Regions from separate parts of the Homo sapiens genome. Here region 2 is linked to region 1. The links are contacts of gene promoters, found by promoter capture Hi-C in blood cells and fetal thymus (Javierre and others, 2016). All regions are on one chromosome and are shown on one strand. The core of a region is centred on a gene start or on the middle of the fragment in contact, and the rest is flanking DNA. Distances in the headings are between cores, read along the strand shown. Region 1 holds the start of TBX6 (T-box transcription factor 6). Region 2 holds the start of MAZ (MYC associated zinc finger protein).

Evidence for each region. The method cuts DNA at HindIII sites, captures the fragments that hold promoters and counts their contacts. A CHiCAGO score of 5 or more calls a contact.
Region 2: the fragment with the promoter of MAZ here is called in contact with the fragment with the promoter of TBX6 in region 1 in 1 of 17 cell types (neutrophils); the score reaches 6.5 in neutrophils.

What each region holds. Positions count from the first base shown.
Region 1 is chr16:30,089,213-30,093,324 of GRCh38, reverse strand. It overlaps TBX6 (T-box transcription factor 6), which reads left to right and starts at 1,401. Exons shown (of 9, transcript NM_004608.4): 1 at 1,401-1,452; 2 at 2,084-2,249; 3 at 2,333-2,567. The coding sequence starts at 2,132. It overlaps YPEL3 (yippee like 3), which reads left to right. Exons shown (of 4, transcript NM_031477.5): 4 at 526-1,011. The coding sequence ends at 615. RefSeq lists enhancers at 742-931, 2,064-2,937 and a silencer at 1,152-1,411. The HindIII fragment of the contact is 24,011 bases long and covers 1-4,112 here.
Region 2 is chr16:29,804,297-29,808,964 of GRCh38, reverse strand. MAZ (MYC associated zinc finger protein) reads right to left here and starts at 2,436. Exons shown (of 5, transcript NM_002383.4): 1 at 2,072-2,436; 2 at 1,137-1,987; 3 at 672-735; 4 at 224-395. The coding sequence starts at 2,263. It overlaps KIF22 (kinesin family member 22), which reads right to left. Exons shown (of 14, transcript NM_007317.3): 12 at 3,939-4,151; 13 at 3,791-3,850; 14 at 3,581-3,702. The coding sequence ends at 3,655. MVP-DT (MVP divergent transcript) reads left to right here. Exons shown (of 4, transcript NR_186424.1): 4 at 1-321. RefSeq lists enhancers at 646-885, 3,456-3,505 and silencers at 966-1,635, 2,536-2,675, 2,806-3,145, 3,886-3,935. The HindIII fragment of the contact is 3,714 bases long and covers 931-4,644 here.

The sequences.
Region 1 (4,112 bases), core at 152-2,651:
CGCCGTTGCACTTCCAGCCTGGGCGACAGAGCAAGACTCCCTCTCAAAACCAAACAAACAAAAAAACCTCAAGTGCCTGCAAGGCCAAGCAGATACTGTAGATGTGTAAAGGGTAGCATAGATTGGCAGGGTTGGGAGTTGGGGGCAGGCTGGGCAAACTGGAGTGAGCAAGGCCTACTTATATTTTAATACTTTAAAGTTATTTTTATTAAACTGTCTGCTGTCCAAACATAATACATGTTGTAGGCCAAAATGGCCATGAAGCTACCAGTTTGCAAACCCTGAACTGTGAAATCTTTTAGCCACTTCCCTATCTTCTCTGTTGGAGCCATCATTAGTACTTAAAAAAGTACCTTTGAGTCAGGGAGTTCTATTCTACTCTGTGTTTGTGAGAAATACGGCCCTGCCCCTCTGGGCCACAGTTTCCTCATATGTAAAATGGGGCCACTCATGTCCACTTCCCAACCCCAGTGCCTTGTGGTGAGACTGTTGCTCCGGGGATGACGGTCCCGCCCCTCCTTTCAGGAACAGGCCTTTGAGAGCAGCCAGAAGTACAAAGAGGGGAAGTACATCATTGAACTCAACCACATGATCAAAGACAACGGCTGGGACTGACCCCCGCTCCCCCGACGCATGTGGCTCCAGCCCGGCCTGGCCGCCAGGGAGCGCCACTGGCTTCCCGCCACCCGAAGGGAGCTCTGGACCCTCAGAGCCCCTGCAGAGGACGGATCTAGCTCCTGTATATATATTTTATTGCATGCACTGTGACCTTGGGGGGAGAACAGAAGGGGGACGACGCCCCCGCACCTCCTGCGATCTGGCTGGCTTGGATCTCGTTTTTAACCCGTTCCTGCCCCACCTGCCCTATAGTTATGGCCTGTGTTCTGCTCTCCTGGTCCCAGTGCACCGTCTGCTCTGTGAACTCCTCCCACCAGGCCCTTCTTACCCCACGCGTGTCTGTCCCCCTCGTTCTGTAGCGTTTGTACATAATAAAACAATGGAGTGGAGACAGCTCAGGCTCGCGTGTAATCCGGGAAGGGGGAGCTCAAGCGGAGATTTCCGCCCCTATAGACCTGTGCGGTTCTGAGCCCCGGCGGGGCATGGGGTAGGCACAGCCGTCCAAGCTGGGTCTCCGGGAACCGGGACGGTTTCACTGCTGGCGGAGGTCCTGAGCCCACTCTGGCTGCCTACGCCGTGACCTCGGCTGATCTGCGTCTGCTCATCTGCAGCGTTTGGCCGCCGCCTAGGGGCAGCGTCCCAGGGAGGCAACCGCGCCGCCGGCCTCGCAGCCCCCTCGCGGTCGGACTGCAACTCCCAGCGGCCCCCGCGTGGTCCGTCCGGCTCCTTCGGGCGCGCCTCAGCGCTGAGCCTGCCGGGAAGTGTAGTTCCGAGGGTTCCCCAGCGCGGGACCTTCGGGAAACCCTGGCGCGAGGCGTCAGAAGCTGTCGGACTGTGAGCGCCTTCGAACTTTGGAGGCTTGGCTCGGGATGGAGGTTTTTTTAGCATGGGGACCAGGGAGGACTACGGTGCTCGGGACTGGGCTGCGGCCTCCTCGCGGCCCCGAGTGCCCTGTGAAATCAGCTCAGGCCGCGTCCCTCTAGCCTGCACTTTCCCTCTGTTCACGCTGCTTCCCTCCAGGGCCCGGCCTCCAAGTGAAGGGGGGCGGAGGGCGGTCACCTGCCAGAAGGTCTGGGGCGCCAAGGTGTGTCCCGGGACTCTTGGCTCCGTCCAGGTTCCAGGCCCCGCCCCCCAGCTTATCCCTAGCCGGGGCTCCCCACCGTGGGAACGGGGACCAGCTGGCCGGAAGCGCCAAACTGCGTCCCTGTCCGAGCCCTGGGGATCAATCAAGCCGAGGAGTTAATTATGTAATGAGGGGGCAGGGGGTCGAGGCTAATGAAGCCTCCCGGGGTGGGGAGGGAGGGGAGGAGGGGACCGTACCCAGGTATCCGACCCCCTCTCGGACCCCTTCGAGGCCCCAGGGGTCTCCACCCCAGCCCAACTCCAGGGCCCCAAAGAGGGGAGGGGCTGTGATCCTGGATCTGGAAGGGGCTGAGCTGTGAGCTATAAAGGGGGCATCTCGCAGCACCGGGGGCCCTAAGCAGCGAGACCTGAGGCCAGACGGAACTACAACATGTACCATCCACGAGAATTGTACCCGTCCCTGGGGGCCGGCTACCGCCTGGGGCCCGCCCAACCTGGGGCCGACTCCAGCTTCCCACCCGCCCTAGCGGAGGGCTACCGCTACCCCGGTGAGCGTTGGGACCAGCTCCTGGGTAGGAGAATAGGGGGGCTGTGGCCCTCGGCTGGCTCCTCATTCTTCCCCGGCTTCCAGAACTGGACACCCCTAAACTGGATTGCTTCCTCTCCGGGATGGAGGCTGCTCCCCGCACCCTGGCCGCGCACCCACCTCTGCCCCTTCTGCCCCCTGCCATGGGCACTGAGCCGGCCCCATCAGCTCCAGAGGCCCTCCATTCCCTCCCGGGGGTCAGCCTGAGCCTGGAGAACCGGGAGCTATGGAAGGAGTTCAGCTCTGTGGGAACAGAAATGATCATCACCAAAGCTGGGAGGTGAGGGGCTGGCCAGGGTCCGTGTTTCTGGTGGGGGTCTCTTGGGAAAGGCAGAGTCCCTGGGGAGGGGGCTAGGACTGGGTGGTTCCCGAGGGGCTAGAGCTCTGCCTAGGCCTAGAATCTGACTATGGCCTGGGGCAAGGGTTACTCTGTGGCAGGAATCAGGAGTCACTCTGTGACAAGGGTTAAGGGCCAGTCTGTGGAGTCTGTGGCTGAGTTTAGGGACCAATCTATGGCAAGGGTCATGGGTCAGTCTGGGGCAGGGTCAGGAAGTCCCTCTGGGTTATAGGTTAGTGTGTGGCTTAGACCAGCATCCAGACAAGGACAGGGGGTCAAGGGCCAGCCCATTGACCAGCATCAGGGAAATCTGGCCAGGATTCGGGATCAGTATGCAACTCGAATAGGAGTCAGTATATGACTAGGTCCAGGGTCACCCTAGAGGCAGGGACACGGTCAGTGTTTGACCTTAGATGAGGTCTTTAGCTGGGGCAGGAACTCAAGCCCTAGCATGGAAAGTCCTCGGCCCTACTGCAGGCAGGGTATATTTTTTCTAAAGCAAATTCATCTAAGAGCTGCAGATTCTGGTGCTGGAGATCAGGGGAGGAGAGGAGGGTGGGGACAGGAAGCTCCTAGCAAGAAAGTTAGTCACCCCTGCTTCTGCAAATAGGCTTTGAGGGGTAGGAGTCATGGCTCTGTTCCTAACCTGCTGTGTGACAGATCACTTAACCCGTCTGTCCTGTTTCCCCAAATGTAAAATGAGACAAGAAAACCTTCCAGCTCTAAGATTCCGCCCTCTGGCTTCTTTTTTTTTTTTTTTTTTTTTTTGAGATGGAGTCTCGCTCTGTTGCCCAGGCTAGAGTGTAGTGGCACGATCTCGTCAGCTCACCGCAACCTCTGCTTCCTGGATTCAAGCGATTCTCCTGCCTCAGCCTCCCGAGTAGCTGGGACTATAGGCACACACCACCACACCCGGCTAATTTTTGTAGTTTTAGTAGAGACGGTGTTTCACCATATTGGCCAGGCTGGTCTCAAACTTCTGACCTCATGATCCTTCCACCTCGGCTTCCTAAAGTGCTGAGATTACAGGCATGAGCCACTGCGCCTGGCCCTTTTTCATTTTTCAGAGACAGTGTCTTGCCCTGTTGCCCAGGCTGGAGTGCAGTGGTGCAATTGTGGCTCACTGTAGTCTTGACTTCCCAGGCTCAAGTGACCCTCCCGCCTCAGCCTCTGTAGTAACTGGGACTATCAGTGTGCACCACCATGCCTGGCTAATTTTTTAATTTTTTTGTAGAGATGGGGTCTTTCTATGTTGCCCAGGCTGGTCTTGAATTCCTGACTCAAGAGATCCTCCCACCTTGGCCTCCCAAAGTATAGGGATTAGAGGTGTGAGCCACAGCCTCCAGCCTGCCCTCTGGGTTCTAATTCCACCTCCTTTGATGTTTCTCTGACAGCTCTGGGGAGCCCGTTGTTATGTCCCGTTACTGGTGCTGGGCCCACCCCTGGCCAGTGGGTAGCTCCAGGCCTCTCCTGTCCCCTCCCTTGCAC
Region 2 (4,668 bases), core at 1,187-3,686, 290 kb after region 1:
CCAGGAGGTTCAACCTCTCTGGCAGATCATCTCTTCCAACCAGGACTTCTTAGAGTCTAATGATGTTCATTCAGGTGTCCCCCCGCTGCTCCCTTGACCTCTTGTAGGAATCTAGACGCCACGAGCTCTTGGCTACAGCACCCTTAACCCGTATCCGTGGCAAGGCGTCTGGCCAGGCGCCCACCCTCTGCCCCTGGCCCTCCCGGCAGCCCTCGGCATGTACCTTTGTTGCAGAGCTCACAGACATGGTGAGGACCCTGGCTGTGCACCTTCATGTGGTCCGAAATATAAGCCGAGCTCAGCATCTTGCCACACACGTGACATGGCACTTTCTCCTCGTGTCGTACTGTGTGCGCCCGCAGCCGATCCTTCGTGGCGAAAGCTGCCTCACATTTCTGAGGAGGGGGGAGGGGCGTGGGGGGTGTCACAGGAGAGTTAAAGCTTGGTGGGCTGGGGAGGGGGGAGCAAGAGATTAAAGGAATCAGAGCCTTGGGGATCTTTGATCTGTAGGAAATGGGAGTGACATGATGAGGCCTTGAAGAAGGGATGAGAAAATGGAGCAAAAAGGCAAAAAGAAGAGAGAGAAAAAGGGGGTCTGAGAGACTGACTCAGACAGCTACCATGAGGATCAAAATCATGAAAACCAAGACAGGAGGAGGCGGGCTTCCTACCTCACATTTGAAGGGCCGTTCTGTTGAGTGCACTTGTCTGACGTGACTGTTGAGGTGATCCGGCCTGGGGACACGTTGGGGTTGGGGTTAGGGCGGAGGTGGTGCGCCCCAAATCCACCAAACCGCACCACAGGCCTTTCCGAGGATCCCTGCGCCTCCTCCCGGAGCCCAGGCCGTCACAGCGACACTTAAGCAGGAAATCCCTCCCCTGGAGCCCAGCAGCCGCTGCCGCCGCCGCCGCCTCCTCCCACGCGAAGCTTCCGTCAACCCCAAGGCCCACCTCCTCGACAAAGGACCACCCCTTGCTCCCTGGTAACCGGGAGAGGCTTCCTCCCTCCGCCCTGGGAGTGGCTCCCCTTCCCCAGCCTCAGCAGCCGCCTCCCTCCCCGCCAGCCACGGCCAGGCCACCTCCGTCGCGTCCCTCCCTCCCCACGGCCTAGCGGGCGGCCGAGGCCCCGTGCACACCGGGAGAAGCTCTTGCCACAGTGGGAGCAGTTGTAGGGCTTGTGCACAGCGCCGTCATGTGAGCGCACGTGGTAGCTCATGCGGTCCTTGCGCTTGAAGCGCTGCTGGCACACCGGGCACTGGTAGGGCTTCTCGTCCGAGTGCGACAGCTTGTGTCGGTTCAGGTGGTAGACGTCGCGGAAGGCCTTGCCACACATCTCGCAGGCATGGTTCTTCCGGATGCGCTTCCCCGAGGCGGTCGTGGTCACCACGCCACCGGCGGCCACTGCGGCAGCGCCGCCGCCGGCACCCGCCTCTCCCCCTCCCCCGCCGGCTCCGCTCAGCTGGGGCACGCTCAGGAGGCTCAGGGGCACCATGGTCGGCATCTTCATAGCACCCGAGGGGACCCGGCCGGCCTTGGCTCCCGTGTGGATGGCTTCGTGCCTCCGGAGATTGTAGCCGTTCTTGAACTCCTTGGCGCACAGAGCGCAGATGTAGGGCCCCTTGCTCTTTGTCTTCTTCTCCAAGGCAGACGCGACCGGGGCCACGGCGACCGTCGAGGTTGGGGCTACGACGGCGGTGGCCGCCGCCGCGGCGATAGTGGCGGCGGAGGCGGGGGGCGCGGCCTCGGCCGCGGGCGCCGACACTGGCGGGGGTGGCGGAGGGGGCGCCGGAGGCTGCTTCAGGGCCGCTGTGTCCACCGTAGAGGCGGCGGCAGGGGCCGGGGGCGCGGCAGCGACGGCGGCAGCAGCGGCGGCAGCGGCCGCAGCAGCCGCGGCGGACTCCTGGGCGGCGGCGAGCACCGGGAGCAAGTCCACCTGGAGGGGCTCGGCCGCCGGGGCCTGGGGCGTGGGCGGGGGCGCCGGCGCGGCCTGCGGAGACAAGGCGCCGAGTGGGCCGCGGGTGCGGGCGGGCGTCCCCCCCCAGCCCGGGCCGCCGCGGCCGGCCCTACTCACCTGGAATGGACTCTGGGCGCAGCCCTGGGAGGCAAAGAAGCGGGACTGGAGCTCAGCCCCGACCTGCAGGGGGTTCTGGGCGTGACCCTGAGGTGGCGGGAAGGAGTTCATGAGGCCGCCCACCCCCCGGGAGTCCAGGCCCAGCACGGGGAAGGGGGGGGCCAGCAGCGTGCAAGGAAACACCGGGAACATGGCCTCGGCCGCAGCGGGGCCCCCGGGGCTCAGCGGGGGCCGGGGGCGCGGGCCGCGCGGGGCCCGGGCTCGGGGCGCCGCCCCCGGCCGGCCGGGCTGGGCCGCGCCGAACGCATGGCCCGCGGGCCGCCCCGCCGCCCGCGCACCCCGGCCGGCGGGAGGGAGGAAAAGAGGGCGCCTTGCGGGCCGCGGAGCGCCGCGGCGACGGCGGCGGCGACGCCCCCTGGGTGGGGGCGGGAGGCCCCGCGGGGCCGGGGCCGGGGGCGGGGGCCCGGGCGGCGGCGGCGGCGGCGGCGGCGGTTGGAGCCTGGCGGGGCGGGGTGGGGGGAGCGAGGGAGCAGCCTCGGCCCCCGCCGCGCGCGCGCCCAGCCGGCGCCTCGGGGAGGGCGGGGGAGGGCGCGAGGGAGGGAGGGGGACAGCTGCGCGCGCACCGGGCGCGCGGAGGGGGGGTGGGACGGGAGGGAGGGCGGGCAGGAGGGGGTGTGGGCAGGGGGGTGGGGGCGGGGGGAGGGAGTTGTTACCTGGAAGATGAAGCTGCTCCAGTTGCTGGGATCCATGGCGGAGGGAGGGAGGGAGGTGGCTCGCGCTCACCCTGGGGCGGGAGGAGGAGGCGGCGGCGGTGGGGGAGGGGGAACCCGGGAGGAGGCGCGCGGGGCGGGCAGGAGGGGGGAGGTGGAGGGTGGGGGAAGCGGAGCACACTACGCGCGGGGAGGGCGGGCGGGGGGCGCGAGGACACACAAGAGGCTGGAGCGGGCGCGAGCGCTAGCGCGAGCGCGCGCGTGGCCAGCGGGAGGGGCAGGCGCGAGAGGGACTCTGGCGGGAGGAGGGACGGGGGAGCCACCCAGCAGCCCGAGTCGCCCCGAGCGCGAGACCCCTGAGACGGCTGCTGATTGGCTGACGATGGCGCAGGTGGTGGGCGCGCGGGAGACAGGGCGGCTTCTCTCCTCTTCCCCCCGCCAACGATTCCACTCCCCCTCCCTCCGCCAGCGGCCGTTATTTCGCGCGCACGCGCACAAGGCCGCCGTCGTTGCCGAGCGGGAGAATGGGGGAGCGCGCGCGCCGGGGGCACGGACGGGGCGGGGCTAATCCCTGAGCGCGCGCCCGCCTAACGGTCGCAGGCCTCATGCTTCGGCTTCCGCTTTTTGCGTCCTGCAGGCCACCGTCCTCCCCGCCCCACCCCAGCGGTGTATTTACAATCCTGCGCTGAGTCGTTCCCCGAAGATGGCGCCCAGTGGAGTCGCCTGCCTTGCTCGCGGCCCACCCCGAGGCGGTCACACCCCGGTCCCGCCCCCGCAGCCCCAAAAATCAGGCGGAAGCACCGGAGCAAAAACTGTATTTACACAACACGGGGTTATACAAAAATTTGAAAAGGCGGAGTGAGGAGACGACGGTCAGGAGGCGCCACAGCGCTGGCCGGCGGCGAGACCCAGGATGTTTGCCTGCAACACAGGAGGGAGGGAGACAGCGACGTTAGAGAGGGGCGCGGGGCGCAGGACAGGCAGAGGAGGGGCAGGGCCGTGACTTCACCTTCAGGAAGGACTCCATCTGTTTCCCCGTTATGCCCTCCACGCGTTCCAGGTCCTCCACCTGGCGGGACAGGATCGATAGGGGACAGGGTCTCGGGGGTACCCGGTCTCCCCCGCCCCCGCCCTCCCCCAGTCCAGTGGGCTGCTACCTGGCTGAAGGGGCCGTGGAGCTCCCGCCAGCCCACGATTAGCTGGGCCTTCTTCGGGCCAATGCGCTGAAGACTGCGGAGATCTCGGGCTGAGCCTTCGTTCAGCAGATCCAGTATTTTTTGGCGCCCATGAGCCAGTAGCTCCGGGCTGATCTGTAGCTCCCAGCAGTCCTCAGCCTTCTCCTCAGGCTCTAGGGCATCCAGGGACTCCAGCTGGGAGGCAAAGGGAGATGAGTGACACGCAGGGCAGCCAAGTGCTTTGGGCTCCTCTGCCAAGACTAGGAGCCCAGCACCAGCTACCTCCTGCGCTCCAGCCTCTTCCTCTCTTGTCAAGTGTGTCCAAAATCCCGCCCTCAGGTCACTCTCTGGGTTAATTCTTATTATGCAACTAGTGAAAGAGAGGTACTACTCAGTACCCAGTGGTAATATTAGCACCCTTCTCATGGAGTTGCTGTGGAGATCAAGTGAGTTAATGAATGTAAAGCACAAAATAAGCTCTTAAATCTGGTCCCTCATCTCTAAAAGGGAAAGAATAAGCTGTCTTTCAAAAAGTACATGGGAGAAAGTAATATGAATAAATGATACCTCCCCCAACCATCTCAGTTTTTGGGTAGTTCTAGTGGTGTTCGATTCTGGGTATGTGCATATGTGTGGTTTCTTGCTTGACTGCTTAGGTCATAGTTCCCTAAGTTTTCCCTCTTAAGCTTGTAGAGGGTAGAAGCCAGGCTAC